4 separate regions of the Homo sapiens genome follow, and regions 2, 3 and 4 are each linked to region 1. Evidence: promoter capture Hi-C in 16 types of primary human blood cells and fetal thymus (Javierre and others, 2016). All regions are on one chromosome and are shown on one strand. Each heading gives the region's core, a stretch centred on a gene start or on the middle of the fragment in contact. The rest is flanking DNA. Distances are from core to core; before and after follow the strand shown. Region 1 holds the start of PMPCB (peptidase, mitochondrial processing subunit beta). Region 2 overlaps SRPK2 (SRSF protein kinase 2). Region 3 overlaps RINT1 (RAD50 interactor 1). Region 4 overlaps RINT1 (RAD50 interactor 1).

The links. Contacts are between HindIII fragments. The CHiCAGO score rates a contact against its expected background, and 5 or more counts as called.
Region 2: a fragment that was not itself captured here is called in contact with the fragment with the promoter of PMPCB in region 1 in 1 of 17 cell types (total CD8 T cells); the score reaches 5.6 in total CD8 T cells.
Region 3: a contact is called between a fragment that was not itself captured here and the fragment with the promoter of PMPCB in region 1, in 5 of 17 cell types (total B cells, monocytes, activated CD4 T cells and 2 more). The highest score is 9.2, in total B cells.
Region 4: a contact is called between a fragment that was not itself captured here and the fragment with the promoter of PMPCB in region 1, in 1 of 17 cell types (non-activated CD4 T cells). The highest score is 5.2, in non-activated CD4 T cells.

What each region holds. Positions count from the first base shown.
Region 1 is chr7:103,295,919-103,298,875 of GRCh38, forward strand. It overlaps PMPCB (peptidase, mitochondrial processing subunit beta), which reads left to right and starts at 1,517. Exons shown (of 13, transcript NM_004279.3): 1 at 1,517-1,640; 2 at 2,650-2,790. The coding sequence starts at 1,542. RefSeq lists enhancers at 1,312-1,371, 1,472-1,771. The HindIII fragment of the contact is 11,349 bases long and covers 1-2,957 here.
Region 2 is chr7:105,367,907-105,371,146 of GRCh38, forward strand. All of the region lies in intron 2 of SRPK2 (SRSF protein kinase 2), which reads right to left. Among named protein-coding and RNA genes, the nearest start is that of SRPK2, 19 kb to the right of the region's middle. The HindIII fragment of the contact is 2,924 bases long and covers 114-3,037 here.
Region 3 is chr7:105,532,406-105,535,358 of GRCh38, forward strand. RINT1 (RAD50 interactor 1) reads left to right here. Exons shown (of 15, transcript NM_021930.6): 2 at 419-464. Among named protein-coding and RNA genes, the nearest start is that of RINT1, 1.7 kb to the left of the region's middle. RefSeq lists enhancers at 1-146, 1-568. The HindIII fragment of the contact is 2,763 bases long and covers 50-2,812 here.
Region 4 is chr7:105,549,437-105,552,550 of GRCh38, forward strand. RINT1 (RAD50 interactor 1) reads left to right here. Exons shown (of 15, transcript NM_021930.6): 8 at 619-729; 9 at 825-1,050; 10 at 2,134-2,271. Among named protein-coding and RNA genes, the nearest start is that of RINT1, 19 kb to the left of the region's middle. The HindIII fragment of the contact is 7,987 bases long and covers 1-3,114 here.

The DNA of each region.
Region 1 (2,957 bases), core at 267-2,766:
TCATAATGGGACTGCCGTAACAGTTTCATTTGTAAAAGATCCTATAGGTAGTAATGTGAAAAAACTGACAATGGGCCTGGAGTAGATTGAAGAGGCAGGAAAGGGGTGTATCAATTGAATGTGGAAGATGGAAAAAGAGAGGAGCTTCTGGGTGGTTTGGAGTTTTGGGCAAATGTAGGTATGATTGGCTGTTTGGCATTGCAAATATGGGAAGAGATTCAGGGGACACAGTGAATTCCCTTTTGGACAAGTTGATATTGAGTTTCCAATGGGGTATTCAAGTGTAGTTTCCTAGTAGTTGATGGTTAAGTGGGCTGGAGCTCAAGAGAAAGGCCTGGGTTGGGCAGACAGGTCTTGAAGTGGAGGGAAAAACCCAGAGGGAGAATGTTCAGTAGAAGAGGCTTAGAGTCCTGGCAAACACCAACTTTTAGGGCAAAATGTAGTGTTTCACAGCACAGTCTTTGGCGTTAACCTATTACTAGCAGGGTAACCTGGGGCAAGTTATTTGACTTCAGTGTCTTAATTGCAAAATAAGCACTATACCATCTACCTGAGTTAGAAAAGCATTTGCAATTTTTAGTTCCTTGAGAGATCTGTGGGCTGGGCGCAGTGGCTCACGCCTGTAATCCTAGCACTTTGGGAGGTGGAGGTGGGTGGATTACCTGAGGTTAGGAGTTCAAAACCAGCCTGACCAATATGGTGAAACCCCATCTCTACTAAAAATACAAAGTAGCCAGGCGTGGTGGCACATGCCTGTAATCCCAGCTACCTGGGAGGCTGAGGCAGGAGAATTGCTTGAACCCAGGAGGCAGAGGTTGCAGTGAGCTGAGATTGCACCACTGCACTCCAGCCTGGGCAACAAGAGTGAAACTCCATCTCAAAAACAAAAACAAAAACAAAAAACAGATCTGTGAATAAAGAGGAGTCCAAGAAGGTGCAGAGGGAACTATGAGGAGGTGGAGCTCTAGAATATATTGAGAAAAGAGAATTTCAAAGAAGCCAACAATGTCAAATCCTCCAACAGGACTGTAACATAAGTCTGTAAAGTGTCCAACTTTTAGCAATTAGTGACCTTACCAAGGGCAATTTCTATGGAATGAGATGAGCCATATTGTAGAGGTTCGAAGAGTGGATAGTGGTCAACACGGATACATCGTTTCCTCCCCTCACGGCATCTGTCTCTCCCACTAGACTTTTCCTTTAAAGGCAGTGACTTATGAATATTATTCCACTGTTTTCAATCAATTCCATCCACCAGTGAGATATATTGCATCAGGTTACCTTTCATTCCACCGCATTTGTGCCTTGCACTTAGTAGGCGATCGATAAAATAACTGATGATAAAGGGGCTTCTGCAGACTCCCCAATTCATTTGGTAAAGACCGCTCAGCATCATGGTCGGGCCCTGATTGCTTTCACAACCGCTTCGAGGAGTGTCATTCCCATCACGGCCACAAGGTGGAGCCCACCTCCCTGCTCTGGGACCTCAGGTCGCGACCCCGGAAGCACATCCTTCATCCTCTACCTTCCTTCTAGCAGAAATGGCGGCTGCGGCGGCTCGAGTGGTGTTGTCATCCGCGGCGCGGCGGCGGCTCTGGGGTTTCAGCGAGAGTCTTCTAATCCGAGGCGCTGCGGGACGGGTGAGCTTCCCTCCAGGCCGGTCCTGTCCTCGAGATCTCGCCAGACCCGGCGCAGCGCACCTGAGAGTCGGCGCCACAGATCCGAACAGTGGGTCGGGCAGGGCCTCCTCGACCCGGACCCGCCGGGCGCCAGGCGGCCTGGGGCTGCTGAACTGGCCGGGGGTGACTGGCTTGTGGCCACCCGCCAGGAGACCTGCTAGTGACGTGTGGGATGACCCTGGTTTTCGGCTCCTCCCGCCAGCTACTGAGGAGTGCATGTTTGACCACTAAAAACGTAGTGCTTGCAAATTGGGGAAAACTAAAAAGTGAAATGGGTACCGCTCCAGAGTTCTATTTTTGCCTAAGACTGAACTTCGTCCTCAGCTGGGCTTCCCGCGAACCTGGACATCAATGAAGTAAAATTTTTTATGTATTTGCATTTTTCTCATGAGAGAGCCTCTGACTTTAAGCAAAGGGATGTGAGACTTTTGTATAAGGGCAAAGAAAAACTGCTGAAAGGCGAATAGTTTCTGGCCGAAAAGCCAGTCATTTGCATTTTGAACATCGACCCATCTTCCTATCCTCTCTCTCTTTTTTTTTTTAACCATTTCCAAACCCTGTTGCTTTTCTTGAACAATGAAAACCCGAGTGTCAGTTTTGTCTTGTGTGTAGGTAGTTTTACATAGTTTCCCTCTCTTTTTTTTTTTCCTGCTTGTTTTCTCCATAATGAATATAAAACATTTCTAGGAGAGGTAGTGAAATAAAGTCAATTTCTCTCTGGGTAATGATAATAATTGCTCATCTTCCCTGAGGGAAGGGCATGTTTATAAACACGTTGCTGGCTTTAGGACAGTGGCTGGTGACAGATGTTTCTAGGCCAGGCAGAGATCTCAGTGGAACCAAAATTCAAGAAGAAAGATTCTTTTATAGAGACAGCCTATTTAAAATAGATTTGGTTTTAAAAGCAACATTTAATATCAGATTAGTAATGTGTTTTGCTTTGTCTCTTCCACTTCCTACCCCCAACCAGTCATTATATTTTGGAGAGAACAGATTAAGAAGTACACAGGCTGCTACCCAAGTTGTTCTGAATGTTCCTGAAACAAGAGTAACATGTTTAGAAAGTGGACTCAGAGTAGCTTCGGAAGACTCTGGGCTCTCAACATGCACAGTAAGTGACTCAGGCAACCTTCTCTAAGTGACCCTTCATTTAGCGTAGCAAATTGTTGATTTTAATCTTTAGCTTTTTCGTTGGCTGGTGGTTCAAAAAGGGTGACAGTTATTTTGCCTTGACAGATTTCCATGAGTTGTGAACCTTTTCTTCCAGTGGTACTTAGT
Region 2 (3,240 bases), core at 326-2,825, 2.1 Mb after region 1:
ACCAATATATTTATTGAAAAAAATTTCCACAGGACAAACACATGTTGTTGATAGCCAAACTGTATACGCTTTTCAGTAATGGGATTTAAAACTTAAGGAGAGTACAGTTACAAAGCTTAGAATCATCTAAAGTGTACATTTAACTGATCACAAAGAAGAGGCAGTGGGCATCAGTGGAGCCAAGGAAAAGAGGAAATTATTTCTATTACTGGTCATGCCTACAGGGTGTTAGTTACTATAAAGAATATTTAAAGACAACCTTGTAGCTACTGAAAAATAAAATAAAAAAAGTTTTTAAAGCTAAAGTAAAAAACATGGCCTTATTGCTTTTTTAGAAAAACTGTTTTCCTGTATTCTAAGATTTTCTATATAAAGCATCTTCCATCCCACTCTCATAGATGCACATGATAAAACCGTGCAGGTCCATGTGACCTGTTAAGGGTCTCTTCAGAGAAAAAAAATTTTTACTTTTTACTTTTCCTCCCAGCAAAGGAAGGAGTTAAAAGTAAGGTTCTTACAATAATCTCTCTTTGAGGACTAGAAACTATTTTCTGTATCAGTCCCAGAAGGGCTTGTCATCCTGCAGCTTAATGGTAGTACAAAAGACCACTGAATCAGCATCCAGGGCTCTAATCCAGCATTCTAAACTGGCTAAGGCACTAAAAAGATAAGTGACTTTCATCAAGAGCCACGCTCTGCTGGCCACGGCGGCTCAAGCCTGTAATCCCAGCACTTAAGGAGGCCAGGGTTGGTGGATCACTTGAGGTAAGGAGTTCAAGACCAGCCTGCCAACATGATGAAACCCCGTCTCTACTAAAAATACAAAAAATTAGCCAGGCATGGTGGCGCATGCCTGTAATCCCATCTATTCAGGAGGCTGAAGCATGAGAATCGCTTGAACCCGGGAGGCAGAGGTAGGAGTGAGCTGAGATCGTGCCACTGCACTCCAACCTAGGTGACAAAGCGAAACTCTATCTCAAAAAAAAAAAAAAAAAAAAAGACTCAGGCTCCTTCAGTCCTTCATTTTTCCCTCAGTGAAAACATGGAATGGTTTAGGGCAATGGACTTCAAACTGTGTTCTTCAAAGCTGCCTTGGGGAGCACCCCAATGGACAAGGGGAAGGCCAGGCGGCAAGGACCAAGCTCTCACCTGCCAATTCTCTCAGAGTAGAGCCACCTTTTCCGCTTTATACATAATAGAGTTCTACACAAGATTTATTTTATTATTATTATTATTATTATTATTATTATTATTATTCGAGATAGAGTCTCACTCTGTTGCCCAGGCTGCAGTGAAATGGCACAATCTCAGCTCACTGCCACCTCCACCTGCTGGGTTCAAGCAATTCTCCTGCCTCAGCCTCCCGAGTAGCTGAGATTACAGGAGCATGCAACCAGGCCCAGCTAATTTTTTGTATTTTTACTACAGACAGGGCTTCATCACGCTGGCCAGGCTGGTATCGAACTCCTGACCTCAAGTGATTCACCCACCTTGGCCTCTCAAAGTGTTGAGAATACAGGCATGAGCCACTGTGCCCGGCCTACACAAGATTTTATTTCACAAAGCATTCTGCTACTACAAAGTAAGGCTGAAAAACATTGATCCAGGTGCTCTGTAAAGTCCAGGCCACTCCACACATTTTCAGACCCACAGCTATACACGATGTATTTCATCTGTGAAAGATGTAGTCAATTTTACATTAATTCTGCAATTAACATTCAGTAACATCTTATTTTAGGATAAAATACATCATGCCCAATCCCCCCAAAAAACTATCAATAGGATATTCTAGAAATAAAAATAATCAACAGGATAAGATTCCCCATAAAAGTGACTGAAGGCCGGGCACAGTGGCTCACCCCTGTAATCCCAGTACTTTGGGAAGATGAAGCAGGCGGATCGCCTGAGGTCAGGAGTTCGAGACCAGCCTGACCAACACGGAGAAACCCCGTCTCTACTAAAAATACAAAATTAGCCAGGCGTGGTGGCGCATGCCTGTAATCCCAGCTACTCAGGAGGCTGAGGCAGGAGAATCGCTTGAACCCGGGAAGCAGAGGTTGCAGTGAGCCAAGATCACGTCATTGCACTCCAGCCTGGGCAACAAGAGCAAGACTCCATCTCAAACAACAACAACAACAACAACAAAAGTGACCAAAGTAGCTAGCTGGCATCAAACACAGTGGCAACCTTTGTACCCTGGATGTTAGAAGTAATGACAGCACCTGGTGACCAAATGAAGCACCCAGCCACAAAAGTAGGACTGCCAAGTGCCAGGAATTTCTTTTAAGTAAATTATCCATCTTATCTCTACTACATCTCAATGAAACTTCGGCTTCCTGGGGATGTTTATTCCTAGCTTACAGTCTTTCCTTACCCTTTCTCCCACCCTATCTACTAAACCTGCCCAACACACACAGTCCATCCAGAGACACATCTAAATTTCAGGAGTTTGGGGGATACAGGTACCCACACTATATGTTCACAAAGTTGAATGACAGTTGTATGTTACAACATACCCAAGTTTAATGCATTCAATCATGTCATCTAGATGCTCCTTCTTATTCCTATCCTTTTAGGCTCCATATTCTAAGACTGATTTGAAAATTATAATGCCGAAAAATATTTACATTAATAATGTTTCAAAGAGATGCCTGAAACAATGCACTCTGGAACTGACAAGCCAATTTTTTTAATTAATTTTTTTTCTTTCTTTTTTTTTTTTTTTTTGAGACAGACTCTCGCTCTGCACCCCAGGCTGGAGTGCAGTGGCACCATCTCGGCTCACTGCAACCTCTGCCTCCCAGGTTCAAATGATTCTCATGCCTTACCCTCCCAAGTAGCTGGGACTATAGGCGTGCACCATCAAGCCTGACTAATTTTTTGTATTTTAGTAGAGACAGGGTTTTACCATGTTGCCCAGGCTGGTCTTGAACTCCTGACCTCAGGCAATCCACCCGCTTAGGCCTCTGAAAGTGCTAGGATTACAGGCATGATCTACTGCGCCCGGCCGGATTATTAATTTTAAACTTACTAGCAAAGCTTTAACTAGAAAGATGTCTATGTGGAGCGTAATTCAAACATCAGTAACAAAACATGGACATATACATTTTGTAGGATTTATCTAGTGAGGCTAAGAATTCAACATAAAGTATTATATATGCCCAAATGTAAGTCAAGGTATTTTCTCAAACAGTATCCCTCAAAAAAGTAGTTTCGATCAGGCATGGTGGCTCACGTCTG
Region 3 (2,953 bases), core at 181-2,680, 2.2 Mb after region 1:
GGTGGCACAGACCTCCCGGGGGAGATAGTCCCGGTGCGGTGGCCCTGTAAGCTTGTGAAGGTGCTTCCTGCGGCTTAGATTAGAGGCCCTTGTAAGACCTCCTAGAGGAGGCGGTAGTCCCCGTGAAGTGGCTTTGGCGGCCCTGGTGAGATGACAGATTTCTCTAGGGAGGTGGCTCTAGTGAGCAGGCAAGGTAACTCCAGGTCCTGCGGAGGTGACACACACCTCCTGGGAAGGTGGCGGTGGCACCAGGACAGTGGCACTTTGAGGTACCTGATTCGGACGGCCCTGGTCGCTCAGAAAGTGGGAGAGCGTCTGGAACCTCTCTTGCCTCCAGTGGGTGCCCTTTGGGAGCCCCGTATGCTTTCCATCCACGACTTTAATCTTAATGTGCTTGTCACATCTGTTCTTCTTCTAGTGCTGCTCTGAAAGTGGTGACGAAAGGAAGAACCTCGAGGAGAAAAGTAAGCCAGCTCCAAACACCTTAGCTTTTTCTTCCCGCCCAAACTCAGCCTTCCAGGGTCTGCAATATAGAAAGGTTCTTTGCCTATCTTTTAGATGCAGTACCGTTTTCTGCACAATATGCTTATATGGTAATACTGATGACCATGATACACATATTTTTGTCTTTCTAAAATTGTAAAATATGGGATGCTTTGGAGAAGAGCACTTCCCGATCCATACCTAGTACAGGGACTAGAGTGTTTTCGCTGGAAGTCTGCCTATCATACAGTACTCAGAATAATTGGGGCCTGCCTGTCATTTTAATGAAACATCAACTTACTAAGCATCAGGAATTTGGAGGGGCCCATGATCTAGGACAGACGACCACCACCCTAATTGGGTTCAAAGGAGGCAAATGACAGTTGTTTAGTTCACCTTCAGTAAATTGGCAATTTAAAATTGCTCTGGCAAGAGCACAACGGATAACTTGGGTTCTGGATCTTGGACTGGACAGGAAAGGGGGAAAAGGTCAGTACCACCATTTCCTCCCTAGTACGGGAGTATATGTCAGGGTTGTGGACTTTTGCCATTTTACTTTGATGGCAGGTTATTGCAAATCAAGGGCTCTTTAGGGACCTTTGAAGTGACATTTTTTGGGAGAGGAAGGGGAAAAGCATGTGATAGCTCTGCTATTGGGATTTTTGGTTCTTTTGACTGTGGCAAACAGTTGGGAATGTGTAGCAGTAAGAAAAACGGTGCCCACATTAGCACATGGCCCTTAGGAGTAAGATTTGCCCTTAACATTAGCGGCTGATAGAATCTGCCTCAGAAAGAAGGCTCTGAGCAGTCCATAGCACATGACTGTCATAACTGCCACATCTCAGCTCCTTTTTCTTGAAGGATTTCAGAGTGCCTTGTATCTCTCAGTTAAACCCTTCCCTTTCCATTTTCCACCTTTGCCTCATTCAGATGCCTGGAAAGTAGTCTGATGCCTACTGAGCTGTCATTTTAATAAAATAATAGATGTAGACTATCATATCAAGGACTTTGACCTTGTTCCTCTTTCCACAGCTCAAACTGCTTTGCAGTTAGGAGTGCTCTTTACAAAAAATAGAAAAGGAGACACATAAAAACCTCCCAAACCACCGGTGTGTCATTTTGAAGAATGTCATTTCACTAAGAATGTACTATGCCACATTTGAATGGTTACACATCAAGGGTGTAATTTTTTTTTTTTTTGAGACTTAGTCTCACTCTGTCTCTCAGGCTGGAGTGCAGTGGCGCGATCTCGCCTTACTGCAAGCTCCGCCTCTGAGTTCAAGTAATTCCCCTGCCTCGGCCTCCTCAGTAGCTGGGATTACTGGTGCCCGCCAAACACCCGGCTAATTTTTGTATTTTTAGTAGAGGCAGGGTTTCACCATTTTGGTTAGGCTGGTCTTGAACTCCTGACCTCAGGCAATCCACCGTCCTCGGCCTTCCAAAGTGCTGGGATTATAGGCATGAGCCACTGTGCTCAGTGGGTGTAATTTTTTTTAAAAAATGAAGGTAGAATTTCCTCCCTAAGATACAGCAACTTTAGCATTCACAAAACATTTCCTGCCTCCATTTATCTGCAGATACACCACACAAATCACTTGTTTTATTTAAGATTTAAAAAAGGCATTGTGAGTTCTGTACATAATAGTAGATTATTATACGTTAATATTATATATAATTATATAGTATAATTAATATATAATTTGTATTATATAGTCCCATTTATAACCTTGAGATATAGGCTGGGGCAAATGTTACAATTTGTTTTCTAGTTGGAAAATTGAGGCATAGTGTTATGTTAATATTGCCTCTCCTACCCTCTAAATTGTCAATTTAAAATTGCTCTGGGAAGGCACAATGTATAGCTTGGGTTCTGGATCTTGCACTGAACAGGAAAGGGGGAAAAGGTCAGTACCACCTCCTGATTCTCACAGCATGTGAAAAATCTTTTAATTTAATTCATATAAGTTAAGTAGAACAAAGGAAATTTTGTTTGTTGGGGTGTAGGGGTGGAGACAGGAACATACTCTGTATAAAACATTGGTATATATTCTGTTAATCTTTACATAAATAGTTGACCAATATCTGACATTTACATTTTGCACTTAGGCATATCATTATTTAGATATTAATATTAATAAGCCTAATGTGTATTGGACTTATTAAATGTCACAAAACAGGTAGTTTATTTGCCATGGAAAGAATCTCACTTTATACTATTTAGTGGTTGCATTTGTCATTTTGATTTTTTCCTAGTAATTTGTTCTCTCATATTTTCTTTTTTCTGTTTCTGACAAAGATATCTTTGTACAATGACATCGATGACATTTGAAGCTTAAAAACCTTTTTTTTTTTTTTTTTTGAGGCAGAGTCTCACTCTGTTGCCCAGGCTGGAGTGCAGTGGCGTGATCTCGGCTCACTGCAACCTCCGCCTCCCGGGTTCAAGCGATTCTTCTGCCTCAGCCTCCCGAGT
Region 4 (3,114 bases), core at 381-2,880, 2.3 Mb after region 1:
CTCCCGCGTTCAAGCGATTCTCCTGCCTCAGCCTCTTGAGTAGCTGGGATTACAGGTGCCCACCACCACGCCCAGCTAATTTTTGTATATTTAGGTGAGACGGGGTTTCACCATGTTGACCAGTCTGGTCTTGAACTTCTGACCTCAGCTGATCCACCCACCTCGGCCTCCCAAAGTGCTGGGATTACAGGCATGAGCTGCCACGCCTGGCCAGCAATTTTTTTCTTGATTTACTTTTTGAAAATAAAAACCATAAGAAAATAATATTAAAATTATTTTCAAATGCTATTTCAAAAAATATAGGCCATCAGTTCTTTGTAATACTCATCATTTTACATATTATTGAAGTGCTAGGTTTTAAATATATATGGCATTGTAAATTTATGAGTTTATTGACTTAAGTCATATTATTGAAATTTGTTGGGAGTACATTAGCAAACATTTGATTATTAAGCCTTGCAGGAGTTTAAAATTTGGAGTAGAAATTGTGCTCTTACATACAGGAATTTTCAACTAATTTTTATAAGTGTTGTGCATATACAATTAAATAGAACCATGTAATTGTAACTTTCTAATTGGAATGACTTAAGAATTCAAACTATTTTCCTCCTTCCTTAGCCAGAATGGTACTTGGCTCAAGTACTTATGTGGATTGGAAACCATACTGAATTTCTGGATGAGAAGATTCAGCCAATATTAGACAAAGTAGGCTCTTTGGTAAACGCAAGGGTAAGAGACTCAGTCATAAGTGTTTCTGTTTTAGAACTGTATGTGTGCATGGATAACTTTTTATTTACATACCTCATGTTTGTGTATTTTTTTAGCTTGAATTTTCTCGGGGCCTTATGATGCTGGTTCTTGAGAAGTTAGCCACTGATATTCCTTGTCTGCTATATGATGACAATCTCTTCTGTCATTTGGTGGATGAAGTACTCTTGTTTGAAAGGGAGCTACACAGTGTTCATGGCTATCCTGGCACTTTTGCTAGTTGTATGCATATTCTATCAGAGGAAACCTGTTTTCAGAGATGGTTGACGGTGGAGAGAAAATGTAAGTGCTGATGTGGCCAGATGGTAGGGAGATATGTCTGTTTCTGTGGGTATACATTTTTGATATTTTTCTTCTCCAGTTCTAAATAGGAACTAGAGCCATTTGAAATTTCCTTTTCAGGGTTTTCTGTTTCCTTCAGAGATAATCTTTTCTTTACTTCACATGAAACTTCCATTTTTCCTGAAATTACACTCTACATATTTCTAGAGTGGAATAGTCAAGCCAGTGGGGTGTTTGTTTTATAGATTTTATCATATAATTTATTTTATTTTTATTTATTTATTTTGGGACAGACTCTTGCTCTGTTGTCCAGGCTAAAGTGCAGTAGTTTGATCTCAGCTCATTGCAACCTCCACCCCCTGCGTTCAAGCGATTCTCCTGTCTCAGCCTCCCGAGTAGTTAGGATTACAGGCACGCACTACCACGCCTGGCTAATTTTTCTGTTTTTAGGAGTGACAGGGTTACAACATGTTGGCCAGGCTGGTCTGGAACTCCTGACTTCAAGTAATCCACCTGCCTTGGCCTCCCAAAGTGTCAGAATATTTTATTTTTTTATTTTTGAGATAGGGTCTCACTTTGTCACCGAGGCTAGAGTGGAGTGGGCCGATCATGGCTTACTGCAGCCTCGACCTCTGGGGCTCAGGTGATCCTCCTGCCTCAGCCACCCCAGTAGCTGGGAGTATAGGTATATGCAAGCCATGCCTGGCTACTTTTTGTATTTTTTGTAGAGATGGGGTTTCCCTGGGGTTTTGCCCAAGCTGGTTGTGAACTCCTAGACTCAAGCAATCCACCCACCTTGGCCTCCTGGAGTGCTGGGATTACTGGTGTGAGCCACCGTGCCTGGCCAATAGAATATTTTTTACTGTAGCTTATCTAGTCAACATAACTATTTTCAGAATTTGGGGATGGGAGTAAAGTATCCTGTTTAAAGCATTAATTAAGTTAAATTTAGTACAACCAGTGGGATATTGTAGGTTTGTTTCTTTTTTATAGAAAAGCCATCATTCCTAAAAAATTACAAGTTGAATAATTAGGAACGACTGTAACTACTTAATTGACATAATTGTTTTGTCTGCTTATCAGTTGCTCTTCAAAAAATGGACTCAATGCTTTCCTCAGAAGCTGCCTGGGTATCGCAATATAAGGATATCACTGACGTGGATGAAATGAAAGTTCCAGATTGTGCAGAAACTTTTATGACTCTACTCTTGGTTATAACTGGTAAGTATGTCTTTTAAGATATGACTTTGTTTTAAAAGTACTGTTTTCACGTGGTAGTTTTTAAAGTAGCTCAGTAGGCTGGGTGCAGTGGCTCATGCCTGTAATCCTAGCACTTTGAGAGGCTGAGACGGGCAGGTTGCTTGAGCCCAGGAGTTCGAGAACAGCCTGGGGTACATGGTGAAATGCCCTCTCTTCCGAAAAAATACAGAAATTAGCCAGTTGTGGTGGTGTGTGCCTGTAGTCCCAGCTACTTGGGAGGCTGAGGTGGGAGGATTTTTTGAGCATGGGAGGTAGAGGTTGCAGTGAGCCATGATCACGCCACTGCAGTCCAGCCTTGGTGACAGAGTGAGACCCTGTCAATAAAGTAATCAATAAATAAGTGGCTCAGCAAATTAATATTATATGATGGTTGTTATCTTCAAATTCAGTTTCTATATTGGTAGAAATCTAACACAATATTCTAACTTTTGGGTTTTTAATAATTTAAGGATTTAAACATTGGTATACATGAAGGAAAACTTCCTGAATAATTACACAAAAACAATTAAATAGGAATTTAATTTTATTATCCAAACTGTCTTGCTATTGGGCTTTTTAGGTGTCTTCAGTAAATGGTGATTGGCCTATATTTTAAATATTGTCTTGATCTTGATTTATCAAAGATTGCAGAAGAGAGTAAAATAATGAAGTAATTTTAAGGATTGGAGTAGTAATAGGAACTTTTGTTACAGTGCAGGGATTCTCTGGCTGGAGGGTAGCCTAGCATCCTCTGGCCCTGGTTGGTCTTTAGCCAATCACGTTGCCCCCTTGTGGGCCTGCTTGTTGTCCAGGTGCCACTGGACC